Linked DNA regions of Homo sapiens: region 1 is linked to region 2. Evidence: promoter capture Hi-C in 16 types of primary human blood cells and fetal thymus (Javierre and others, 2016). All regions are on one chromosome and are shown on one strand. Each heading gives the region's core, a stretch centred on a gene start or on the middle of the fragment in contact. The rest is flanking DNA. Distances are from core to core; before and after follow the strand shown. Region 1 overlaps LOC105372448 (a long non-coding RNA gene). Region 2 holds the start of HAS1 (hyaluronan synthase 1).

Evidence for each region. The method cuts DNA at HindIII sites, captures the fragments that hold promoters and counts their contacts. A CHiCAGO score of 5 or more calls a contact.
Region 1: a fragment that was not itself captured here is called in contact with the fragment with the promoter of HAS1 in region 2 in 2 of 17 cell types (monocytes and neutrophils); the score reaches 10.2 in monocytes.

What each region holds. Positions count from the first base shown.
Region 1 is chr19:51,775,291-51,781,771 of GRCh38, reverse strand. LOC105372448 (a long non-coding RNA gene) reads left to right here. Exons shown (of 3, transcript XR_936049.2): 2 at 426-595; 3 at 1,791-2,073. Among named protein-coding and RNA genes, the nearest start is that of FPR3, 17 kb to the left of the region's middle. RefSeq lists a silencer at 3,662-3,956. The HindIII fragment of the contact is 271 bases long and covers 3,643-3,913 here.
Region 2 is chr19:51,721,117-51,727,559 of GRCh38, reverse strand. It overlaps HAS1 (hyaluronan synthase 1), which reads left to right and starts at 3,569. Exons shown (of 5, transcript NM_001297436.2): 1 at 3,569-3,635. The coding sequence starts at 3,627. The HindIII fragment of the contact is 33,518 bases long and covers 1-6,443 here.

The DNA.
Region 1 (6,481 bases), core at 2,529-5,028, 54 kb before region 2:
TTGAAACACACAAATTTGTTCATGACAAAATAAGAAATATTCATTAAAATGATAGTCTTCACTTCTGTAACTGATTCTGCGATCATGGTAGTATTTATAACTACCATCTTTCACTCCTCAATCCATTTTCCATTTTCCCTCAACTAGTACCTCAGTTGGTCATCATCTGTGCCTAGTGGGGAAACCCAAACCTTCATTCCTGAAAGATCTGGGGCATTACAGTCCTGCTTGATAGAGCTGTGGTTTTACATGGACTTTAATAACAAAACAAGGTGGTACTCAGAGCTGCCCTAATGGGTCTGTCATATTCCAGACATGTTCTTCATTATCTCTATATAATATAGTAGCATACCAATTTCCTTCTTAGTAGCCAGGATCAGTCACCCCATCCATACAGTAACTCCCTTCTTTGCCTGCTGATTCAGAGCAAGAGGAGCCCAAAGTAGTGATGGGCAGTGGTACCTTCCAGTTCAGTAGAAACATTGTTGTGTCGCTGGGTGGATACATTTCTTCCTTTGGAACCAAGACCTCTGAGCCAACACAGCATAAGGTCATGAGGATGGGAAGCAGAAATTTTTCTAGTGGATCACTAAAGGTAATAATGAGTGATACAATTCCCATTTCTACCCCTTCATTCCTGGATCCTTGGATTCTAGTTATGGGAGAGAGAGCACCATACACTGAGTGCTGATTTAGAGTATGTATAGCTTCCTAAAGGATATTGCTCCAGCCCTGCAAGGTATTGCCTGCTAGCTGGTACTTGGGTAAGTCTTCAAAAGGTCATCCTACCATTCCTTCAAGCCGGCTACTCAAAATGGACAATATGGTAGGACCAGTGAATTCCAGAGTGTGGACCCATTGCCACAGTTTATTTGCTGTGAATTTAATCCCACAATCAAACCAATGCTGTATGGAATGCCATGATGATGGACAAGGCATTCTGTAAGTCCACAGATGATAGTTTTGGCAGAAGCATTATGTACAGAGAAAGCACATTCATGTTCAGAGTTAACATCTATCCCGATAAAAACGAGGCTCTGCTTCTCCCACAAGGGAAGTGGTCCAGTGTGTTCAACCTGCCACTGGGGAGCTGGGTGATTACCCAGGGAATGGTGCCATATCAGGGACTCAGTGTCCATCTCTGCTGTGGGCAGATTGGGCACTCAGCAGTGAGTGTAGCCAGATTGGCCTTGGCAAGTCAAAGTCCATGTTGCTGATCCCAGGAACAGCTTCTGTTCCTGCCACTGAAACTGTAGAAGCAGGAAACATGTTAGAATGATCAAGGATAGAAACTAGATTTCTCTGAATGTATCTACTTCCTCTTATGGTTTTTTGACTGTAACAAGAACGGGATAGGAGGTGCCAACTGGGAAGAAATTGTACTTGATGTACAACAGCATAACCTATATAAATTTTTAAAATCTTGCCCTTTCTTAAAACTGGGCTTGAAATTACATTCCTATTCCCATAGTCTAGATACCCATCGTGACTGGTAAAATGTTTACCGTGATTTGACTATCTAGAATGATCTCTAGAGACAGTGGCAGACTATATTTTCCACTGATATCTATGTTACATATTTATCTCATCCCACATGTTGTCTGTACAGGTAATTCACACTCCTCCCACTCCTTCCACAGAGAAGTGAGGATTTTTTCCCCCTCCTCTTCAATCTGGACCAGGACTTGTGACTGCCCTGACCAATGGAGTATGGCAGAAGTAATGCTATATCCCTTCCAAGTGTAGTTCATAAAAAGAATGAAACTTCCATTTAACGCTTTCCCCCTCAGATCACTCATCCTGGGAGATACCATCAGCCACGTTATGAGACTACTCCAGCAGTTCTGTGGTGAGGAAGCAACTTTCCAGCAACAACTCATTATCTATGGGATTATGTCACCTGGAAGTGAATTTTCTAGCCTCAGTCAAGCCTTCAGATAATTGCAGCCTCAGCTCACATCTGACTACAAACTCATGAGAGATTTCAATCCAGAAACACTCAAGCCAGAAACTTCCAAATTCCTGACCCAGAGAAATTGTAACAGATAGTAAATTAGATTACTATTGTTTTAAGCCATGTTTTGAGGGTGATTTGCCTGCAGCAATAGATAACTAACACAGGGACAACCTGGTATAATATTAGCTCAAGTGTGACTTAGAATAGGTGAAACATTATGAATTGCCAGGAGTTTTATCAACCAGCAAGCCTCCCAACTCTGTGTGGGTCTCACAAAATCTCCATCATTAGTAGTTAATTCTTTGACTCTATCTTCCAAACTTTATGCCTAGATTGCCATTTCAACTGGAAGAGAACACACTGGGCAAGAGGAACCATTGAGCACCTACTTCCCTACAAATTGGGACAGGAAGTTAGTGTTAGGACCTGAGGGAGGGAGAGTAAGGGACATAGTTTTTGGAGGCGATATTGGCTCTTTTTGTATCAGAGGTTGTCCTTCCTCTTTCACTGTGTTTCTCAGTAACTGTTATGTGCTTTGTGTGTACATACAAAAATCAGATCCAGATTTAGTTGGTTTGCTATTTGTGGTAAGAATTGAGGTGTAAAGGGCATGGGGGACTTTTTTCTGATAAATTATTAATTCTGTTCACTGTTGCTGAGAACCTCTTCTTTCAGAAGAACAAAGTATTGACAGCTTAGCTTGTCCACACCTGTGATTTCACGATCACAGCCTCACTCTCCAAATTTGCTTTCCTAACTAGGACTTCTCCCCATGTTTCCCTCCCAATGGCTGTGTTACCACCGCATATAAAAAAGACCATTTGTTCTATGGTGTGGACCATAAAGATATATCCGTGTTTCCAAGAGGTAATATTAGTTCTAATTCTCATGGTCTAATATTAGTTCTTATTATGTCCTCTAGTTAAAAGAGTATTTATTCAACTGCTAGAAAGCAGGGGAATCATTGCTGGGCGCAGTGGCTCACACAGAAATAAGCCCCGTGTGGTGGCATGTTCCTGTGGTCCCACCTACTCGGGAGACAGAGGTGGGATGATCGCTTGAGCTGGTGAGGTTGAGGCTTCAGTGAGCTATGATTGCACCACTGCACTCCAGCCTTGACCATAGAGCAAGACCCTGACTCAAAAACAAAACAAAACAAAAAAAGAAAACAGGGGAATCTGATTGCACATTACAATTTACCAGGGAATACCTAAAGGGAACAAAGTTAATCTGTGATTAAACACAGATTATTGTGCTCTGCTCCAAACTTTATAAATCAAGATGCTTTGATGTTGCAGTGACCTAACCCATATTAAAACAAACAAACAAACAAACAAACACCTCCCCAATTGACTCTGATGAAACAGCATCAGTGTAGGTCAACATTCGGGACGCAGTTAACTAGATGGTGTTTGGAGCCGCAGGAGGCATGAGATGGAAAGATAGAATGGAATCACAGTTGAACAGTCGCCAGCATCCTAAGCATTTACATGGACTTTCTTTCGTCTAATGGCACTGGTAACTCATAGAATGGGATGAGATACAGGAGAGATCTCTAGCCTCCACCGTCTCTGGAATGTACATTTTGGAATGAAGGGGACTTTCTGCATTGAAAGAACAAAGTTACTTGTACAGATGTGCTTAGAAATGTATTCTGGGCGAGCTAGCCCACAAATAATCAAGCTTTCCAAGGGTTATCTCCCAATGCGGTCACAGAACTGAGTGAAGCAAGAGTTGCATTTCCTTGTGTTTTCTTTTAGCTGCCACAAGAGGGAGCTCGATGTCTAATGAGTTCGTTTTCACGAGCCCAGGAGACCCGAGCCAGTCATGCCGGGGATGGCTTCCTCCTGCTGCCTTTGACCCTCCCTGTCCTAGCAAGTATGAATTTAGAGAATTGCAGCACCTATATGAAAGGTGTCCTGCTTCAAGCAGCCTAATTTCAGGAGCTATGAAGCTTTACTGGTATAAAGAAAAGGGGACCCGAATTCGATTGACTTATTTTTCGTTTTTTCCTCTTTTATTTGAAACAAGGTCTCGCTGTGTCACCCAGGCTGGAGTGCAGTGCCACAATCATAGCTCACTGCCGCCTTCGCCTCCCGGGCTCAAGCTATCCTCCCACCTCAGCCCCAGTCCTTCAGCTGGATCTACAGGCACGCACCACCAAGCCCAGGTAATTTTTGTATTTTCAGTAGAGACGAGGTCTCACTATGTTTCCCAGGCTGGTCTCGAACTCCTGGGCCCAAGCAATTCGCCCACCTCGGCCTCCCAAAGTGGTGGGGTTACAGGCATGAGCCGCTACATCCAGCTGACTTATTTCTCTTAGCTTTTAAAATGTGGACTATAACAACCACCCCACACACAAACACACACAATGAGAAAAAGATAAACGTGAAGATTAATATATTTGTGTAAAACAAAATGCTCATGTACTCCCACTCATGTCAAGAAATAGATCACTATTTGTTTTTCAGAAAAGTTGTCTTCCTAAGATGTGGCAATGGGCTTTATAGCTCTGATAGTAGATAAGAGCAGAGAAATCAACTAAATTACAAACGATCTTTTTTAGTATTACTTTTTTTAATTTTTAATTTTTGTCGGTACATAGTACATAGTAGTTGTATATATTTATGGGGTACATGAGATACTTTGATATCAGGCATGCAATGTGTAATAATCACATCATAGAAAATAGAGTATCCATTCCCTCAAATATTCGTCCTTTGGATTATAAAGAATCCAGTTATACTCTTTTAGTTTTTAAAAAATATATAATTAACTTATCATTGACTATATTCACTCTATTGTGCCTTTGAATACTAGGTTTCATTCATTCTTTCTGTTCTTTTTGTACGCATTAACCATCCCCACTTCTCCCCCGACTCCTGCCACCCTTCCCAATTTCTGGTAACCATCCTTCTATTCTCTATCTCCATGAGTTCAATTGTTTTGATTTTTAGCTCCCACAAATAAGTGAGAACATACAAAGTTTGTCTTTCTGTGCCTGATCCATTTCACTTAACATAATGACCTCCAGTTCCATCCATGTTGTTGCAAATGACAGAGTCTCATTATTTTTCATGGCAGAATAGTACTCCATTATGTATATGAACAATTTTTTTTTGTTCATTCATCTGTTGATAGACACTTAGGTTACAAACTATTGTAATTTTTTTCTATAGACAAACACACAGTCATGCAAAGGAATGTGTGTGTGCACAGGTATTCATTGTAGCTTTTTTTTTGTAATGAGCAAAAGATCAAAAGCAATTTGGTCAGATTAAATTTTGTTACATTCATCCAATAAAATACAATGCAAAAATTAAAAAGAATGAGGAACTTTGAGAATACAGACACAGAAGGAGGACTTTCTAACTCATGATAAATCCACGATCACCCTAATAACCAAATCCATTTAAAGACATTACAAGAAAACAAAACTACAGACCAATAACTCTCATGAACATAGATGCAAAAATTCTCAAAAACATATTAGGAAATCAAACCCAAAAATGTCTAAACTACTATAATGTAATGTATAAAACAAAGTATAAAAATTATTCATGCCAGGTATGCAAGTCTAGTTCAAATTTCAAAAATTAATTAATGTAATCAATTACATCAACAGACTAATGAAAAAACCACATAGTTATATCAGTAGAAGCAGAAAAAGTATTTGACAAAATTCAACACTCATTCATAATTTTTAAAAATGCTCAGTAACCTGGGAATAAAGAGGAACTTCCTCAATCTGATAAACAATGCCTACAAAAAATCCTACAGCTAACATTATACTTAACAGTGGGAAACTTGACGCTTTCCCAGTAAGGCCAGGAACAAGGCAAGGACGTCTTCTCTCATATTGGTTTTCAGCATTGCTGAAGTCTTAGCTAATTCAATTAAAAACAAACTAAAAAGGTATGCATATTGGAAAGGAAGAAAAAAAAACTATTTTGTTCACAACTGACATGATCATCTATGCAGAAAATCCAAAAGATTGGATAACAAACATTCCTGGAAGTAATAAGTGATTATAGCAGGGTTGCAGAGTACAAAAAAATCAATCACTTTCCTAGATACCAACAGTGAGCAAATGGAATTTGAAATTAAAAACACAATACTATTTACATTATGTCCCTCAGAAATGAAACACTGAGTAAAAATCTAACAAAATATGTACAAGATCTATATGAGAAAAACTACAACACTCTGATGAAAGAAATTATAGAAGAACTGAAGAAATTGAGAGATAGTCCATGTACAGGGCTAGGAAGATTCAAGATTGTCAAGATGTCAGTTTTCCTCAATTTGATCTTTGGATTCAGTACAATCCCAATAAAAATTCCAGCAATTTATTCTGTGGATATAACAAACTGATTCTAAAGTTTACATGGACAGGGAAAAGACCCAGTATAGCCAACATAATATTGAACAAGAAGAGCAAAGTTGGAGGACTGACACCATCTGATTTCAAGACATACTGTAAAGCTACAGTAACCAAGACAGTGTACTACAGGCAAAAGAACA
Region 2 (6,443 bases), core at 2,320-4,819:
AGGGCAGGGCCCAGGGCTGAGTCATCTCTGTGTGCCCGGCATCGCCCAGCCCAGCCCTGTCCACCAGGGCTCAGGAGATGTCCCCACAATGAATGAATGTTCTCTCCTCTGCCTTTGCTCCATTTTTGCCTTACCTCTCCCACCCTGTGCTCCTTCTGTCCAGGTATTCTGTAAGCTGTACCCTGAGGTTTCCTGATGATGGCTGAAATGCTGGGAAGGCCACTGTGGACCCAGGGCAGGAACTGGAGAGCAGCCACCAGAGGAATGGGGGTTTCTAGGAGCCATGGGTGTTAGCGAGGGGTGCGGTGTCCCTACCTGTCCCTCCAACAACAGCCCCGGCCTGCTGTGGGAGTGTTCAGCTTCACTGCTCCCTGTCTTTCAGCACTTGTCTGGGCTGCTTCCAGCCTTGGTCATCTCTTCCTGCAAGAAATTCTGGGGGCTGGACATGTAGGTCTAAGGGAGAAGGAAGCTGGGAGTTGAGACTCCTGGGTCTGAGGGAGGAGGGGATGGGGGCCTGGGCCTGGGCTCCAGGGTCTGAGGGAGGAGGGGATGGGGGCCTGGACTCCTGGGTCTGAGGGAGGAGGAGATGGAGTCTGGACTCCTGGGTCTGAGGGAGGAGGGGATGGGGCCTGGACTCCTGGGTCTGAGGGAGGAGGGGATGGGGCCTGGACTCCTGGGTCTGAGGGAGGAGGGGATGGGGCCTGGACTCCTGGGTCTGAGGGAGGCGGGGCTGGCAGCCTGGACTCCTGGGTCTGAGGGAGGGGTGCTGGGGACCTGGACTTCTGGGTCTGAGGGAGGTGGGGCTGGGGGCCTGGACTCCTGGGTCTCAGGGAGGAGGGACTGGGGGTCTGGACCCTGGGTCTGAGGGATGAGGAACTCTGAACCTGTACTCCTGGGTCTGAAGGAGGAGGGGCTGGGTGTCTGGGATCCTGGGTCTGAGGGAGGAGGGACATGGGAACCTGGACTCCTGGGCCTGAGAGAGGAAGGGCTGGGGTCTGGACTCTCGGGTCTGAAGGAGGAGGGTGCTGGGAACCTGGACTCCTGGGTCTTAGAGGAGGGAACTGTTGAGGATTAAAGCCCTGGTTATCCTTCCTCAACCGCACTCTGGTTTTAGAAACATCTGGTTTTATACAGCTGCTCCACCCGAGCAGGGCGGGGTGGGGGCTGGGCAGCCAAATGCCCCACTTCTGGGGAGGAGCCTGCGCTGCCCCCTCCCACTGGGCGGAGGACTCACCCTCCCCTTCTGCTCTGGGCTGGCCTCAGATCATCTGAGGACCCATCATCCTGACACAGCCAGACACCAGGCAGCCCGGCTCCCGGCAACAGCGTCAGACACAGCCCGGCCCGCCCTGGTGGGTGGGAAGGGCGTTCGAGCTCCTTGGGAATGCACCTTCTCCCTGACAGGCCCAGGCAGAGGCTTGGCCTGGCGCAGCCTCCTCGGGGAAAACCCCAGGGTGTGAGGACTTGGTGTGAGGACTTGGTGTCTGGCAGGGGAGAGCTCCGGGACAGGCTGGAAGAGATGGAACTGCAGGGAGAGACGAAGATGTAGAAACAGAGAAATGGAGAGAAACTGAATGAGAGAGACAGAGACAGAGAAACACATACAGAGATAGAGCCTTACAAAGAGATAGGTGCGGTGGCTCACGCCTGTAATCCCAACACTTTGGAAGGCCAAGGCAGATGGATCACTTGAGGTCAGGAGTTGGAGACCAGCCTGGCCTACATAGTGAAACCCCATCTCTACTAAAAATACAAAAAATTAGCCAGGTGTGGTGGTGGGCGCTTGTAGTTCCAGCTACTCGGGAGGCTAAGGCAGGAGAATCGCTTGAACCCGGGAGGCGGAGGTTGCAGTGAGCCGAGCTCACGCCACTGCACTCCAGCCTAGGTGAGAGAGTGAGACTCCGTCTCAAAAAAAAAAAAAAAAAAAGAGAGAGATGGGGATGCAGAGAGACGGAAGGAGGATAGAGACAGAGCTAGAGAGGGAGGGAGATAGAGGGAAAAAGAGACAGAGAGAAAGAGACACACACACATGGACACACAGTGAGAAAGTCAGGGAGAGGCACTCAGAAAGAAAGAGAGCCACACAAGAAGAAAGTCAGGGAGACTTCAGAAATGCAAAGGGACAGACACTCCCAGGTAAAAGCAGAGAGAGAATGGCTGTGAGGGGGGATGAGGAGGAGAAACAGACAGGAATACACAGAGGCAGAGACCCAAATAGAGGGACCGAGAAACAGAGATGGGGTGACAGATACAAAATGACAGAGATTTGGGGAGGGACAGACGAGGAGAGAGAAGCACGGGGGAATTTCTCTCTGCTGCTCCATGTCTTTCAGCCTGTCCTGGAGCTGGCCCGTGCCAGACACCAAAGGTCGTTGGAGTCACAGGCAGGGAGAAAAGAACGAGGCAGCTACCGAGGCAGCTACCAAGGCCGAAAGTGAGACATCAATAGTTCACAGTAAGAGGAGCAGAGAGAAGAACAGAATTAGATACAGATAGTTTTTTTAAAAAATTCATGGAAAGAAGGGCATGTAAACAGACATTTATCACAGATCTGGTCCTGAGGGGCTGGGGTTCGGGCACCCCAGGTCCCGCATCTCTTTTCACCCTTCCTCTGACTCAGTTTCCCTGATGGGTGACAGCACTGACAGACCCCGGCTGGCTCCCCAGGGTCAGCTGACCGACAACTCTCTGTGTTCATCCCTGAGTCCCTGGGGATACAAATCCCAGCGCCCCAGCTCTCCACCCCAGACCCTGGTGCACACACGCAGACCCACGTCAGTTAGGCGCTGAATGGACAGATGTTCACTCACAGCTCCGGTTCCAGGCAGCCGTGCCTCGGGCCAGCGTACACACAGGCACACCCACAGCACGCACGTGTGTGAGTTTCGTTCCATCTGCCAGTTGCTGAGACATGTCCCTGGGGGGCCCAACCCAGAGATGGATTCTGGGGACAGGAGAGGCGGCTGTGGGGAGAAGCAGGGCGGGGGTGACTGGGGAAGGTGAGAAGGGGGAGGTGGGGAGAGCTTTAAAGCAAGAAGAGAAAGAAATGAGGGTGAGAGGAGGCAAGAGAAGTGGAGAGGAAGAAAGGGATGGAGAGAAAGACAGAAACTTGGAGAAATGTGGTAATGGGGAGAGAGATGAGGGTACCAACAAAGAGATGAGGAGAAATAGTGGGTTAGGGAGAAAGAAAGGGATGGAGGGAAATACAGGGATAGGGGATGGGGGGATGAGGGGAACCCCCAAAATGCAAGTGAGGTGGAAGAGAAAAATCAGGGGAGACAAGGGACGAGAGGGGGGAGGAAGAGAGAAGAAGACATAGAGGAGGGAGGGAGAGGAGGGGGAGTGATGGCAGAGAGGACTAGAGGAGGGGCGCGGGTAGACATGGGGGCCTGGGAAGGGAGGCCCGTCTGGCTGAGGGGGGTGGGAGTAATAGCGGGAAGCGGGTGGAGCTGCCCGGCTGGGCCGTGACCTCAGAGCCCCTGGCCCAGCTTAGCCTGACTGACGTCAGCGCTCGCTCCCGCCCCCGCCTGCGCTGGTCTTCAAATGACCCCCCTCCAGCTCTCTGGCCACAGAGAGGCTGGGAGAGCAAGCCGGAGAGAAGAGAGAGCCCGGCCAGACCCACTGCGATGAGACAGGTGTGTGTGTGTGTGTGTGTGTGTGTGTGTGTGTGTGTGTATACAGCCATGTGGGGAAAACTACTGCCATATGTGTGACCACGTGTGTTGGGGAACTGTGTGTGCATGATTTCATGTGTGTATCCATGTGCCTGACAGTGACCATATGTGTGTAGGGGACAGTGAGCATGTGAGGCTGAGTGTGCAGGTCTGTGTATACATTGCCCTGTGTGAGCGGCCATCCCAAGTACATGTAGGTGAGACGTGCCATGTCCGTATTTCTGTATCTGCGTATCTTGCTACAAACTTGTGTATGTCTATGTTCCCTGGGAGGCAGAGAGAAAGAGGGAGTGCGACAGTGAGCGAATGAAAGAGACTGAGTGAGAAAGAGAGTTGGATTTGCCTGTGGCACATGGGAATGGATTTCTGTTTCATGCGTTCAATAGCTATTAAGTTGAACCAAATGAAATCGCCGATACTGAGCCACTCTAAACTTGGAAGAATAGCAATTTCATCTGGTTCAGTATCAGCTTGACAGTCACCTACTATTTCTCTTGAAATCTTCCCTGTGCATCCCATTGCCCCAGACTCTCAGTTGGGGCTCTGTGTGTTTGTGGCCACGTGGACATCCTTTGCTGGTGTTGCTTTTTCCTGCTGAGGGGTGTGTGTCTGCAGGTTCACCTGTGTGGCCGTCGGTGGGGGTCACGGGATCGCTGTGTTTGGCCTGAGTGGGTGTCTCGGGTCATCCTGTAGAACACGAGTAATTTCATTCTGTGTGTCACTCATCATGTGTGAGTTCACGTGTGGGGGAGTGTGTCTACACGTGTGTTCATCTGTGTTTCTGGAATCAACTCTCTGGATCCCCAGCATGAATTGAGCCATCCCTAGGAACTCAGGCAAGGCCAGGTTTGAAGCAAAGGAAGAGAGAAGGGGGATTCGAGAAGAAAGAATAATGTTTAATGTTGAGAGTTTAAAAGCTGTACCTCAGTTTTGTCCTCTAGAAATGTAACGAAAACCACAATATCTAATTTAAAATTTTCTTGTGGCCACATTTGAAAAAGTAAAAACAAACAGGTGAAATTAATTTTAATAATATATTTTTATTTAACCCAGTGTGTCAGGGGCCAGCACATTTTTTTAAATAAAGGGCCCAATATTAAATATTTGAGGCTTTTGGGGGCCATCTGGTCTCTTTTGAAAGTACTCAACTTCGATGTGGTAAATGTAGAATCAGCCACAGATGATGTATAAACAAATGAATGTGGTTGTATGCAAATAAAACTTCCTTTAAGGACACTGAAATTTGAATTTCATATTTTTCATGCTCCACAAACTATTATTCTTCTTTTGGCTTTCAAAAACCATCTAAAAACACACACACAAATTCTTAGCCTGCAGGCTGCAGCAGGTCTTAGCATGCCGACCCCTGCTACATATAAGATATGATCATTTCAATATGTAATCAATACATAAATGTTAATGAGCTATTTTACTTTCTTTTCCCCAGACTTGGCCTTCAAAATCCAGTGTGTTCATAGCACTTCTCACTTAGATGCTACCTTTTCACTGGAAATACCTAATCTGTGTTTAGATTTTATAAGATTTACAATTATAAAAGGGGCATCGTAGATGCAACTTGTTCCAGACATATTTAAAATCTTTCCAATAACCGAATCAAGTAAGAGTTTTTAAATTTAAATGAATTAAAATTAAATAAAATTTAAAACTCAGTTCCTCGGTGATACTGGCTGCATTTCAAGTACTCGGTAGACACATGTGGCTGCTGACACCTGTGTTGGACACAAAGATCTACATCTTAACGACGCATTTAAATAACCCACAGTAAGCCTTGAGGCAGGAACTGGTGGCATAGGAGGCAGTTTAGCGTAGAGGGGACGCCAGAGCCAGACTGCCTGAGTTTTACTTCTGACTCTGCTTATTACCTGAGTGACCTTGGGTAAAAGTATTTGCCTCTCAGTGTCTCAGTTTCCTCATCTGTAACAGAAGACAGTGAAGGTACCTGCCTTATAAGATTGTTGTAGAGACCGGGTGCAGTAGCTCACGCCTATAATCCCAGCACTTTAGGGGGCCAAGGCAGGAGGATCGCTAGAGCCTGGGAGTTCGAGACCAACTTGAGAAACACAGCAAGACCCTGTCTCTATTATTATTATTATTATTTCGAGATGGAGTCTCGCACTGTCACCCAGGCTGAAGTGTAGTGGTGCCATCTTGGCTCACTGCAACCTCCACCTCAGGGGTTCAAGCAGTTCTCCTGCCTTAGCCTTCTGAGGAGCTGAGACTACAGTCGTGCGCCACCAAGCCTGGCTAATTTTTGTATTTTGCTTTCGCCATGTTAGCCAGGCTAATCTCGAACTCCTGACCTCAGGTGATCCACCCGCCTCCGCCTCCCAAAGTGCTGGGATTACAGGCGTGAGCCACAGTTTCTGGCTCCCTGTCTCAATTTAAAAAAAAATTTATATATATATATTAAGGTTGTTGTACAGTAGTGTCTGGCACACAGAAAGTACTTTTTCCTCTGATTCTGGGCTCTTCCAGCAACATTTACTGGGGCACCTGGCTCTGCTGGGGAGTTGGGCAGTGGAAAAGGAGAACCAGGCTATGCCTCTGGAAAGTCAGAGAGAAGAGTCCTCTACCATGGGCTGCTGATCTTGTGCAAGCCACTCCTTCTGGCCAATCAGTCCTCAGTTTGGCCACCTGTATGGTGGCAGAGCACTATCTGTCCCCCAGGGCTCTCCCGAGGGCTAGAGGTTTAGAGATTCAGTTCCTAGGGTTCAAATCCAGGTTCCTCTGCTTTCCAGGGACAACCTT